Linked DNA regions of Homo sapiens: all the other regions are linked to region 1. The links are contacts of gene promoters, found by promoter capture Hi-C in human tissues and cell types (Jung and others, 2019). All regions are on one chromosome and are shown on one strand. The core of a region is centred on a gene start or on the middle of the fragment in contact, and the rest is flanking DNA. Distances in the headings are between cores, read along the strand shown. Region 1 holds the start of TEX36 (testis expressed 36). Region 2 has its middle 130 kb from the start of TEX36-AS1. Region 3 holds the start of LOC105378544 (a long non-coding RNA gene).

Region 1 (4,605 bases), core at 1,553-4,052:
AAATGGCTCTAGCGTTTTAATTTCGCTCTTTTAAAATATATATTTAATGGCTATAACATGATAGCTGTGAAATAAACCCTTCTGTTAGATATTGTAACCGTGAAATACAGCTTTTTAACAAGTTGGCGGTGAAATTTTTGCTTCGTTCAGTCACTCAATGACTGAAATATTAAATAGGAAGGGGCAAGTGTGTGGAAAAAGTCTTTCCTACCTGGCAATAGCTAGATTGCAACCAGCAAGGTCAACTGCAAAATGACTGTCACCTCTAATGTGGCAATTACGGTCCTCCCAAATGGGCTGCAGCTGACTCAAAGCCAATAATTTCTTTAATTTTTCCCTCCTCGTCTACAAGTTACTTTGGGAAACTTCATGATCAGCACTATTCTTTTTATGCTCTTAGGTGCTGACAGCAGAAAGGATTTTTGCCAAAGGCCCAAGCCAAGCTTTGGGGAACAGTGCCTTTCTCCCTAAAACCCAGGGACTGGGCTACGTTTCTGGGGTCTTGATAGAAGGATAAAATAAAATTTCTTCCTATGAAATGTTGATTCTCGCTTTCCCCCTTACCACAGAATTCAGGTTCTTCATTCACAGCAGCCATGTGGTTGGTTAAAAAAAACACCTCCTCAGACACCCTTTTAGCTAAATTGGCCATGTGACACAGTGAGATGGAAGCAGAGGTCTAGGGAGCAGGCTCCAGGGAAGGCAGGAAAGTATTGTTTTCCTGATAAAAAGGGGCAGACTTAGGTGACAGGCGCCTTCCATCTTTTTGTCCTTTGACCTTCCTCTTATTTCCCTGCCTGAGTTGTGGATTCACTGTTTGGAGCTGGAGTCATCCCACACTAAGGATGGCAAAACAGAATGCTGAAAAGGGAGCTGCTGATGACTCCCTTGAGCAGCTGTACTAGCCTGGGATGGCCAACTTCTAGGTTTCATTGTTACTTAAGAAATATAAATCCCTATTTGGTTAAGACACTGTAGTCACTTTAGTCAGCCTTCTATAAAATTCAGGCTAACAATTGTAACTGATACATAGGTAATAGCTAGAGGGAAAGCTACTTAATCTGAGCAACTTACATTTTTCTTTTCATGGGAACTTAGCTTTATGGAGTTGACATTATCTCTCATTTTACTTTGGCTGCCAGGGAACTCAGAGTCAAATGTGGTGCCCAAATATCTACCATATAATCCTGGAAATATACCTAATATTATGTCTATGTTATATGTGTTCTCAGACTCAGCCTCTTCTCTTTCTAAAGTATTTATAAAACTAGTTATAACTTTCTATTTGATTTATACTGTATTATTTTATTGTGTACATTTTCCATGCTTTAAATTTTTGTGGAATGAAACAAGGTATACATTTGTGTGTATACACGTATATGTACACATACATACAAAGTGTATATATGTTAAGTGGTTTCTATGTGCTCACTCATTGTACTGAGCACTTGTTAATGAGTCGTGAATCCCCCACCATGGTCTTCTACCCTTGGTACATTATGCTCCCATTTTACAGACAAAGAAACTGAGACTTAGAAAGACTAAGCTGCTTAGCCAAGGTTGTATCCAAGTGGGTAGATCAGTTTTTTAAAGCCTTCAGACCCAAATTTGCTGAAGTGTTTTCTGTTTTTCTTTGAAACAAATTAAAATTTTAACAATTTTTTACCTGTTGCTACCCTAAAAGAAGTCGACGTCAGGTTTTTCTCTGATTATGTTTCTCATTGCGAGTCTACTGCTGTGATTTCCCCTTAACATTCTTTTTGTGAATGAATTGTAGAAATCAGAAATGGGAAAGGCTTGAGGCTTGTCGGCCATGAAATATACATGTTGAAGAGCAAAGGAGAGAAGTGCTTGGCCGACAAGGCTAAGACCTCACACTTAGGAGTGACCCAAATGTTTCCTGAAGATGGTAGAAGAGTGAAAAATCCCACAGGCTCTGTAAGTGACATCAGAAGAGCAAGAGTTGGGGGAGAGCGTGAAGCTGGAAAGGGAAAGTTTTCAAGTGATGAAGATGAGTAAATGATGCATTCCTGGACTCTTCTCATTTCATAGGCCGGAGGGGCTAAAGGAATTGGATTGGGAGCCAACAAGAATTTGTTTAGAGGTTTCTAGTATAATATAATTACTTCAACACATATGTATTGAGTGCCTTCTATGCTCCAGATCCTGTTCTAGGCACTGGGGATACATCAGTGAATAAAATAGACAAAAATCCCAGCTCCATGGAGCTTATATTCTAGCAAGGGGAGAAAAATAACATAGATAAGAGAATAAGTTCTGTAGTATGTTAGAAAATAGATGTTAAGGAAGAAAGAAAAAGTAGAGCAGGAATGACTGCTTAGTGGACATTCACGAGGTTCCAGTGTGCTGAGCATTTTACATGCATTATTTCATTCAATCTTTGCAAGAGTGTTAGAGGATTCCCATGTCACAGATGAAGAAACTGAGGTTGAGTAAAGTGAAGTGATTTGTCAAAGGTCATGCTTCAGTAATAGTAGAAGCAGGATTGGAACTCCTCAGACTGTTGACCACACCCACGTGGCATGAGAAAGGCACCAGGGGCCACCATCTTCCTTACCCATCTCCCATCCTTGTCTGAAGGTGGGTTGAAGCGTCGCCCTTTGGTCATTCTCTCCAGGAAGCTGAATGTGGCTGAGATTGGCTCCCTCACCTCTCCATAAGCTCTACATGTCTGGGAAGCTGCTTCCTAAACTTCATAAGCTCTACACGTCTGGGAAGCTCCTCCTCCTCCTTGTTCCTGATCTTTACTTCTCAGCCTCTTCCAGGAGGGGAAGGTGCGGGTGCCCATTGTTGTCATGGAATGGGAACTCACCCATCACAATGGGCAAAGGAGTCTTCTAAACCCTCGGAGGATTCTTGCCACTGGTTCCTTGCAGCTGTGACTCCCCAGGGTAAGAGGCAAAGAGCCACCAGGTCCCAGCTGAGGAAGCCCTGTGGTCAGCTCAGACAGGTAAGGACAAGATGATTTGGGGGTAATGGCAAACATTTTGTACCCTCTCAATTTTTGAACCAATAATGTTTGAGTTGCATGTCCCCCTGGCAACTGTATGTTCCAACCTGTTAGTTTTCAGAGAAGTAAGTTGAGTCCCAGGCTGGGGGTGACCTTGTCTGCATCAGTGGCACTGCTGCACCCAGGACCCACGCTGCCTACCATCTCCTTCTGTGGCAGCCTCTGTGTCTCAGCTCGGACCCAACCTCAGGACTCACTCACAGCCACTCTTACCTGCCTGGCACAGCATTGAGACCATGAGGAAGTAACACTCATGAATAATTATTATATGCCAAGTGCTGTGCTAAACTAAACATTCACCTGTTTTTATTTTTTCTCCACGACAACCTTCAACATTTACAAATAGGAAACAAGGGACATACAGCAATGGATGGGATGCCACAAGTCCCAGCAAGGTCATGGGCCAGCTCCAGAGCTCATGAGCCTTGCCAAGGGCCACCTGGCATCCCCAGGGCTGCAAAGGCTGCTCGTGAAATCTGGCGTTTCTCTCGGGGCCTGGACACACACGTCCTGCCTCCCTTCTACTCAGTAAGGTGTTTTCTGCTTTTCTTTCTTTCTTTTTTTTTTTAATGTTGTGTCTTGCCAATTCTCTTGGCTACTCCGTGTGAATACGAGAGTAAACACATGCAGGACAACCTGTCCAGCTGCTCTCTCACTCAGAAATTGTGTCCTCCACCCTTTCCTCCTCCAGTCACCCTCCTAGGTTTTCCAAGGAGAGTTGCTGTAGTAGTGATAGAGGACCTTATCCACTGCCAGCACTGAAGGGCCAGAGGTGGCCCTTAGATGTGACACCGGAGATGCACAGGTCCTCTTGCACTATGATGCCAAAAGCCACATGGTAAGGAGAGGAGGAAAAGGTGGTGGGCCACCTCTTTTGGTGTTGCAGAGCTGCTGTACCAGGCAATACTGTTGTGTGTGGAGTAAACCCTTCCAGGATTTCTGCTACCTGCTGACAAACCCAGTGCAACAGACACTATTTTTCACCTTTACCAGGCATTGCCCACTGCTCTCCAAAGCCCAGGTGTAAAGAAATACTCCCAGCAGCAGCAGTGCAAGGGAGTTCTGTCGTCTCACAGCCTTGCCAAGACGCACTATATTGATTACGAACAAATTTGACTGGGACAGGAAACCCGAACTAACAGGGGCTTAAACATGATAGACATTTATTCTCTCTGCGTAGTGAAGTCCAGAGGGAAGTAGTCCAGGCTCGATATGGTGGCTCTGCTGTTCAGGATTCTCAGAGATGAGGCTCCCTCCCACCTACCACCACTCACCAGCTCCAGGGGGCAGCTGTCATCACTTGGCCCCAGATGGCATCTGCGTTCCAGGCAGCAGAATGCAGAAAGGGAAGTAGAGGGGAAAGGGCGTGTCCCCATGGATCATATTGGGCCAACCCCAGTTGGCTCAGCTGCTTCCTCCTAAGGAAGTTTCCTGGCAGCTGCCATACAACACTTCCTCTCGTGGGCCAGGACTTCAACCACATAGTCAGGCCTCACTGTAAAGGGAGCTGCAAAGTAGGCATTGTCCTGGTGGGATGATTGCCCAGCCGAAAGTTTAATTACCATGGAAGAGAC
Region 2 (4,605 bases), core at 602-3,101, 240 kb before region 1:
GTTGGGAAATTAATGTTTCTGTTTTCTTCTTTTCCTAATGATACTGTAGCATGAAGATCATCTAATTCCAAAGAAAACTTCTGAATTTCGTGATGGTTCTTCTCCACTGTTGGGCAAACTTCACGGTCTTGTCATCATCTTGGCATTTAATCACGTCGGCCTCACTGTCCCGCAAGGTGATTCCAGTCTCTGCCTTGCCTTTCATTGGCTGTGGTCTCTGGCAGCCTTCACAGTGGGGTGAGTTTGAACGTGGTGGTCTGCCACTGTCTAGACAGGGAGGCGGTTCAGCACAGTGGCTCAAAATGCGTCTCCAAGCCCTATGTGCATGTTGGACACTACGTCGACCTCTTGCCAGAGGGTCATTAGCTCTGTGAACTTGGGCAGGTAACTCAACTTTCATGTTTCCTGGTCTGTAACATGAAGGGTCTTTACAGTGTCTAACTCACTGCAGGAACTGCCACGCTAATGTACTGTGGCACTTACCACATGTGGACATCATTCAGGGTCTGGACTATGAGGTTCACCTGGGCAGGACCTTGCCTTCCCTGCCTTGTCACCGCCGTGTCACTGGGCCCAGCACCCTGGCTGGTGGTTAAAGTCATGTATGAATGGAAGCAGGCCGGAGGATCAGGACAGAGGATGCTTTATGTTACCCCGCGTGCCCTGGGAGATGCCAGCACCAACTCTCAGGTCTTCTCCGTATGACCACTCTCCTCCCTGTGGCTGGCTGGGCTCCTCACCCTTGTGCCCATACTAGAACATAGACACCCTCCCTTTCCAACCTCCTCCTTTTGGTCCAGGCACATTCTTCATAGTCAGAGACTTCTCACATTTCTTCTCAACTTGGATGCCCTCATACTTTTCTCTTGCCTCATACGGAAAAAAACGCGCCTTGTTCTGCCTAAACTCCACCCCCGTCCCCTGTCCAGGCTCACAAAGTACTTAACTTTCCTTTCACCTTTTCTATACCCCTCGGCCTCTCTCCAGGAAAGGCAATCTGTGATCTGCCTGCCTTTGCTTACATTTTTTGGGAACCACGTCAGCCTTTCCAATGAAAGCTCAGTGCATTGTTATAATCTGATATTAATAACACTGGGCTACCAGTCTTGGAGGGAAGCATTTTCCCATTTAAAAACATGTCTTAGCTGCTGCCTTTCCTGATGTACTGGAGTGCAGGTTCTTGTCCCAGGCAGCCTGGGTTTGAATCCACCTCTTCTACTTCCTAGCTGGGTAACCATGGGTAAGTTACTTAACCTCTCTGTGCCTCATCTGTACAATGGGGATAATAAAAGCTTCAACATCTCACAGAGTTGTCCTGAGGATTAAATGACACGATGCTTGCAAAAAGCTTAGCGCTTTGAAAGTACTAATGTTTCTGATACATATGTTTGTTATCATCCCACTTACAAGTGGCCATCCTTTCCATGTTTTCTTGTTTCTGCCTTTCGCTTGGCCGAGTCGCCTGGAAATCCCAAGGAGGAGTTGTCTGGGGTAGAGCTCCCTTCCCGCTCCTGCCCTGGTCTTGTCCACATTCCTCCTCCCCATCCCGCCATTGCTGCCCTGGTGTCTCTTAGCTGCCCTGCTGTCTCTTAGGTGCTAGACACACTGGGTGACTGGGAGTTAGGAAACACCTGCTCCAGCATCAATGGGAGGTGAGGCAATTCCATTAAAATGCACACTTCTTGTTTCTGTACCTCCAACAACTACTACTTTCAGTTTCTCCACAAACACTTACTGCTTGTTTCCCATGGGTCTGGCACAGGGCAGGCGCTGGTGAGGCAGACCCTCTCCTGACCCTTGGCAGTGGGTGGTAGGGGCAGATACATAAACAGGGCCTCAGAGACCAATATGGGAGAGCAATGGCAGGGCCATGTGCAAGGGGCAGGCACGTGACCACCCTGGGCAGAGGAGGGGTAGCAGTGGCCACTGAGGACCCTGAAGGAAGCAGTGCCAAGGCAGATTCAGAGATGAGGAGGGTGGGCCGGACAGGGGAGTGGGGTGGCACATTCCAGGCAGAGGGGACAACTCGAGCTAAAGAATTCTCCGTATGAGGCAAGAGAAAAGTGTGAGGGCATCCAGGTTGGGAAGAAATGAGAGAAGTCTCTGACTATGAAGAATGTGCCCAATCCGAAGGGAGGAGGTTGGAAAGGGAGGGTGTCTGTGTTCTAGTGTGGGCACAAGGGTGAGGAGGCCAGCCAGGCACAAGAAGGAGAGTGGCCATAGGGAGAAGGCCTGAGAGTTGCTGCTGGAATCTCCCGGGGCATGTTGGGTAACGTAAAGCATCCTCAGGCTGGAAACGATCTGAGGTGAGCCAGAATGAAAAGCAGTTGAGCATTATTGGAGAGTAATGGGACGAGTGCAGAATGGCGCGAGGCAGACAGAAGTCGATCAAATACCAGCTTTATTGTGGACGAAAACCTGCTAGAGAACATAGCTTGACCCTCAGCCAATAGCCCCAAAGAAAACTTACCTCCCCACGCTGCAGGCCTCTTCCTTGGGGATGGCACCTTCCTTGGGAGAGAAACCTGCCTCAGTGAGTGCCCTTCCGTCCTTCCCTGTGTGTGGGTAGCACAGAGCTCAATCCTGCCCCCTGCCATCCAGCGTGTGGCTATTTAGACACTGGGAATTCTCGCCTGCTGTTTTCAACCCTGGCTACCAGAATCTTGGCTGCAGCAGCCCACCGCTGTGTAGTAGGCGGATGTGGATAACGCTAGTTGGACTAACTTAAGATTCAGAATGGCATGAAGAAAACCAAAGGATGCATTGAGGTATCTTCAAGGCATCTCAGACTCATGACCCTTCGCTGTGACCAGGTCCCCTTTCCACATGGCCTGTGTCAGTAAATTGGTGCACCAGCCACCCATCTGCACAAGCAAAGAACTTCAGAGCCATCCTTGACATTTCCGCTCCCATCCATCCACTACCAAGGTCTGCCCATCCAGCCCCTAAATGTCTCCCCAGTCCATCTACATCTTCCTGCCAACCCCAAATCCAAGCTGCCATCATCCACCATTTCATTCTTGGACTCCTAAGAAAACCTCCCAACTAGGCTGCCCACCTCCAATCTTGAACTCTCTCAACCCATTCTCCAGCCAAAGCCTGGGGGATTGTTTTCAAAATGGAAATCTGATCACATCTCCATCCACAACCTGTCCCTTCTCTGGCTTCCCACGGTGTTTAGGATAAAGATCTGAATGCTCACCAGGACTGGTGGGCCTTGTGTGATTCTCCCCTCTCCACCTCCCCACAGCCACTGGGTCCCACCCAGCCTTCCCTACCCCTCACGCTCCCCGGACTCTTCCTAGGTCTTTGCACATCTTCTACCTGGGATGTTCTGCGCGCACTTCAGGCCTCTGAAGCATCCTCCAGAACTTAGCTCACATGAAATCCCCTCAGGGCAGCCTTCCCTGCCCTCAAGCCTAGGTAGAGTTCTGGGTTAGAAGTTCTTAGAGCTCCCTATTCCTTTCGAGCCCTTACCACGGTTTGTTGCCCTTTAGTTTCTGCAATCATTCTCTTTTTCACAAGACCACGGGTTCCCTGAGGAGTGTTTTGGCTCACTCTTATCTCTCCATGGCCTATGATAGTAGTGGAAATGCAATATAAATTAATGAATTCTTACATTATTAATTTAGAAGCCATCAGCAGAGTCCTACCAATGGGCTTCTTCGGTGTGGAATTGTATGCCAAATTCCTATAAAAATTTAAAGTTTTTTTTTACTAAAATTTGGGGAGAAACGTCATAATGAGAGGCACGGGGGGCTACATTTTGCATATATTTGCAGAAGTGGAGATATATGTAAAGTGACATTCTCTGGAAAAACTCCCAGACTATTAATATTAACCCAAGGTCAATACTAAAAGCCAGTTCCTCAGGGAGTTGTACTGAACTGTAAAGAAATGCACCAGGGTGTGACATGGCATCAGAGATGCTGAGCTTTTCATGACTTTGGGAGAGGGAACAGCAACTTCGCAAGCAGGAAAGAGTAAGACAGACAATGTGTTTTCAGCAACTGCCCTAGCAAATTCATTTTCGGTTATAAGATGGTGCAATACCGACATGGAATTCATCATATCTGTCATTAGGGTGCTAATGAGAGAACATCACACACATATCACCTGAGAGCTGCAATAGAAAGAATCACTGTATCACTGGAAGAAGCTAGAAGTGGAGTAATCAATATCAACAAAATCTATTGTTCCCAGGTTGCAAAATTGAGGGATTATTTCTACTGCAAGTCAGAATGAAACCTGTTTGCATTTGTCAGCAAAATGATCACATTTTACACCATTAACATTTGGCAAGACAGAGCACCATCCATTAGCTAATCTGCAGATGCACCAACCACAGATTCAGGAAACCAAAGAGCAGCACAGAGCTGTCTTGCCTGCACCAAGCCAAAGCGATGAGCTAAACCTGCCTCTTGGTTACAACTCAGGTAAGGTGGGTGAAACGGAATGGTTCATTAAAACAATTCAGTAGCTGGTGGCTGCTGGAAAAGATGTCACTAGGATGCATTGAATGTCAGGAGGTACTCAGGCAGGGACCGCTGGCACATTAAGATACTCATGGGCTTGCCAGGAAAGGCCTAAGACATAGCAGTAAAT
Region 3 (4,605 bases), core at 1,283-3,782, 160 kb before region 1:
CATTCTGCTACTAACAGGGGATATTTAATTTCCTTAAATTTTTTTTCCTAAACACTGCACAAATAAACACCCTTTTATATATGTCTTTATGTCCTGCTTTTATTTTGGTAGGTTAGATTCACAGAATTGGGTGATACATGCATGTTCAATTTTGATCAATGTTTCCAGGTAGAATTTTTAAAGGACTGTAACAATTTACAATGTATATATATTCTTTTATGCTCCTCCCTAAAAATGCCAGGTATGAATATGGAGTTTTTTAAACTTGTTTCTAGTAAGCTGCCTGTAAAGTGATTCATTTGTTCAGTAAGAGAAGCTTACTGAAAATCTTCTGCCTACCAGGCACTGTTGCTGGCACTGAGGATGTGACAGTGAGCCAAGCTGGTCAAGTCTCCACACTGGCGGAGCTCACATCCCAGGAGGGAGTCAGAAGATAAACAAACACATAAATATTTGGTAAGTCAGAGGGGACATGAAGAAAAGGGAATAGGGAATGAGAGGTATGGAGCAAGCAGTGCTATTTAAGGTAGGGTGCTCAGGAAAGATGTCTCAGAGGTGACATTTGAGCAGAGACCTGGAGCAAGTGTGGGAAGGTGTCACGGGGAGGAGGCTATGAGGCTGGTACAGGTGTGGGGTGCAGGAGGAACAGGAAGAGGGCTAGTGCGGCGGGAGGGAAACTTCCGGCAGTGCAGAGGCAGAGGCAGTACCACTGCTGCCCAGTGGGTGGCACACTGCCAGGGGTCCCACAGGCCCCAGGCACACCAGCTGAGAAGACGGAACTGGAGGGAAACTTCTTGTTCCCCTCCAGGGAACTGGAGTCAGAGGCAGTACCATGACTGCCCACTGGGGGCGCACTGCTTGGGGGTCGGGGGCGGGTGTCTCGCAGGCTCCACGTGTTCCAGCTGAGAAGACCGCTTCCTCCTCGGGCCAGGAAGAAGAATCCCTTTCTGCTCCAGTTTCCCTTCCGCGTCTCCAGTGCAAAACTGGCACCGAACTCTATGTTGGCTGCATGACAAATAATTGTTTCCAAAATTACGATTTGTCTGTTGACTCTATACAGAGCCCAATTTGTCTTCTAAAAGTTTGAAAACTGTATCTAGCCATGTATCTCTCTATTATTTTTAAATTTATAACTTCTAGGTTTCTAGTGGTGAAGGCCTCTTGAGCCCCTAGATGGTATGTGTAGACCCATGGGTTTTATGGAAATGTTTCGAGTTTTGGTTTTTTTGCTTTCACGTCTTTAGTCTATCTAGATCATATTTTTTAAGCAATGTGAGATAGAGATCCAATTCTCTTTTCTTTCAGGCAGCCATTGCACTGCCACTGTTTATTAAATAATCCATGTTTTTTCCACTGAGATGAATCTTTGTCATATATTATATTTTTGTATTTGTCAAGATCTATTTTTGAGTTCTCTCTTCGGTTCCACTGATCTGTTTGTCTATTCCTAGCTGATACCACAGTGACTTGATGGCAGGGCTTTATGCACGATCTGTTCTTTTGTAAGGCAAGTGTACTCACTGTTCTTTTCCATAACTTTCTCAGCTGTTCTGGGGGCATTTATTCTTCCATATAAGCTTTAATGTCATTCTATTCAACTAAAAAAAAGCTAATTGAGATTTTAATCAAAATTAGATTCCTTTTCTATATTAATTTGGGAGAATTGACATTTTATGATATTGTCTTCTAATCCAAGAAGAATATTTGTTCAGACCTCCTTTTAGATCATTCAGTAAGTCTTTGGTTTTCTTCTTTTAGATACTGCACTTTTTTGTTGAATTCATTTTTAAGTATCTGTGGCTTCTGTTACTATTGCAAATCAATAATTTTCCAGTTTCTTCTTCCAGGTGCTGTGTTAGTGTCCTGGCAGGAAACACATGGTGCACTCGAGTCGGGTACTGAGGAGAGTTTAAATATCAAGTATTGATTAAGATGTGGGCATGAATAAGGGAAGTCAACAAGGAGAAGAGAAGCACCCCCGGACGCCAACGCAGTGGGGCAAGGTTTTCCAAGGTAGGACCTGGAAAAAACGCTGTCACTGAGGCTATCAATGTAGTAGAGGACATCTGGCGAGGAGCTTAGCCTTTGGTAGAGGAGCCAGCCTTTGCCAATTCTCGGTCCAGCAGAAAGGAAGACACCCCACTGTCATCCTCCTCCTGCCCGTCACACTCCTGACAATGCTTCCCATAAGATGAACCCAGCTGTGAGCCTTGTATTAAGCCACGTTAGGTGTTAAAGCATCAATTCTAGTAACAAAAAACCCAAATCCCTTGGGGCTTCTCAGTATCCAATTGTATCATTTTTTAAAATAGGTAATTCTATCTCTTCTTTTCCAATGTTTATATCTATTATTTCATTTTCCTGTTGTATTAGTTTGCTAGGGTTGCTATAACAAAATATCACAAACCAAGTGGCTTAAACAACAGAAATTTATCATCTTACATTTCTGGGGCTGGAAGTCCAAGGTCCAGGTATCATCAGAGTTGGCTTCTTCTGAGGGCTCTGGGGAAACTTCTGTCCCACGCCTCTCTCCTAGGTTGTGGTGGTTTGCTGGCCATCCATCATCCCGGCAGAGAGCAAGGTGATACTTGGCTGGTAAAAGCATCACCCTGCTCTGTCTTCATGGTGTTCTTCCTGTGTGTGTTTTGTGTCTATTAGAAGGGGCCATTTGCATGTTTTCTTTGGAGAAATGTCTACTTACATCTTTGCTCATTTTTAAATTGGGTTCTTCTTATTATTGTTATTGAATTGTATGAGTTCCTTATGTATTTAGAATATTAATCCCTTATCAGACAGATGGTTTGCAAATATTTTCTCCAAATCTATAGGTTGCCTTTTCGTTTTGCTGATTGCTACTATGCTGTGCCAAAACTTTTTAGTTAGGTGTAGGTCCACTTGTTTATTCTTGCTTTTGTTGCCTGTGCTTTTGGTGTCATAGCCCAAAAATCATTGCCAAGATCCATGTCAAGGAGCTTTACCCTATATTTTCTTCTAGGAGTTTTAAGGTTTCAGGTTTTACCTTTAAATCTTTAATTCCTTTTGAGTTGATTTTTGGGTATGGTGCAATGCAAGGGTCGAATTTCACTATTTTGCATGTGGATACTCAGTTTTCCCAGAACTGTTTATTGAAGAACCAGTCCTCTCCCCATGGTGTGTTCTTGGCACCCTTGTCGAAGATCCGGTGACTGTATATGCATGGGTTTATTTCTGAGCTTTCTATTCTGTGTCATAGGTTTATAGACTGAAGTGTTCTCTTCATTATTGTCTAAGTAGTTTGCTATTCCCCTTATAATTTTCTGTTTGACCCAATGATTAGGTGGAATTGTGGTTCTTAATTAAGATTTTTGGTTGAATTATTTAATTATAATTTAAAATTTGTTGACATAATAATGTGGCCTTTAAGTATAAGCTTTTTTATTTCATTAAGATGTTTTAGTGTGACCAAGTGGGACTTGAGTTATTTTTGTCCATGATTCATGTACACAGGGGGGAAATGTGTACTCTCTATTTGAGATATGTAAAGCTCAATGTATGTCGGTGAAGTCAAGTTTATTGATGGTATTAGTGAATCCCTTTACATCCTTACCTTATACCTAGTAGATCTATCTCCTTTCATGTTGATATTTTTTAAATTAAATTTTACTTGCATTTTAACAGTTTCAGCTTAAGGTATTTAATTGTTACATTGTTGTACACACAGATTTATGACTATTACCTCTTCTACATAAATTTTGCATTTATCATTACACGATGTACCTCATTATTCCATTTAGCTCTATAAACCTAAAATTTCATTTTGTGACATTAATATTGCCATGCCAACTTTCTTTTTATATGCTTTTATCTGTTAGCTCTTTGATTACTCATATTTTCAACCTTTTCATAAAAGTTGTCTTTTATTTCTCATAAACGGCATAGAGCTGGGTTTTGATTTTTTTTTTTTTTTCGCTCTGTCATCCAGGCTGAAGTGCAGTGGCAGGATCTCGTCTCACTGCAAGCTCCACCTCCCAGGTTCACGCCATTTCCTGCCTCAGCCTCCGGAGCAGCTGGGACCACAGATGCCCACCACCATGCCCGGCCAATATTTTCTATTTTTTTTTAGTAGAAATGGGGTTTCATCTTGTTAGCCAGGATGGTCTCGATCTCCTGACCTTGTGATCCACCCGCCTCAGCCACCCAAAGTGCTGGGATTACAGGCGTGAGCCACCGCGCCCGGCCTGGGTTTTGCATTTTAACTTAATCTGATTCTCTGTCTTTTAATCCGTCATTCAACATTTTATATTTAGTGTAAAAACTGATATTCTTGATTCTGATTCTTCTGTATCCATGTTTATTTTTCATTTTTGTTTCCTCTTTTTCCTTTTTCTAATTTTTTTATTTAATGAAGTTGCTATTGCTTCATTTTCCCCTAGATAATGAGGAACTTCTACCAAACATTTCTATTCAATTAATAGTCATTGCCCTTTCCCCAGAACTGTTAATCAGAAACATATTAATATTTCTGAATTATTGTTTGAAATCAAGGTACCAAGACTATGTCCCTAACCAGGATACACTCTTTCCCCTCTTTTACTTTATCTCAGTAAGGTGAAATCATTTTAAAAA

The links. Contacts are between HindIII fragments. The study calls those that stand out against the background at their distance.
Region 2: a contact is called between a fragment that was not itself captured here and the fragment with the promoter of TEX36 in region 1, in 5 of the 25 tissues and cell types used here (H1 embryonic stem cells, heart left ventricle, heart right ventricle and 2 more).
Region 3: a fragment that was not itself captured here is called in contact with the fragment with the promoter of TEX36 in region 1 in 2 of the 25 tissues and cell types used here (heart left ventricle and mesendoderm cells).

What each region holds. Positions count from the first base shown.
Region 1 is chr10:125,680,361-125,684,965 of GRCh38, forward strand. TEX36 (testis expressed 36) reads right to left here and starts at 2,803. Exons shown (of 4, transcript NM_001128202.3): 1 at 2,579-2,803. The coding sequence starts at 2,629. It overlaps LOC283038 (a long non-coding RNA gene), which reads left to right and starts at 2,883. Exons shown (of 5, transcript NR_033848.1): 1 at 2,883-2,971. The HindIII fragment of the contact is 13,590 bases long and covers 1-4,605 here.
Region 2 is chr10:125,442,406-125,447,010 of GRCh38, forward strand. No RefSeq gene overlaps it. Among named protein-coding and RNA genes, the nearest start is that of TEX36-AS1, 130 kb to the right of the region's middle. The HindIII fragment of the contact is 5,237 bases long and covers 1-4,470 here.
Region 3 is chr10:125,521,519-125,526,123 of GRCh38, forward strand. LOC105378544 (a long non-coding RNA gene) reads left to right here and starts at 349. Exons shown (of 3, transcript XR_946438.2): 1 at 349-456; 2 at 1,848-2,013. The HindIII fragment of the contact is 3,173 bases long and covers 947-4,119 here.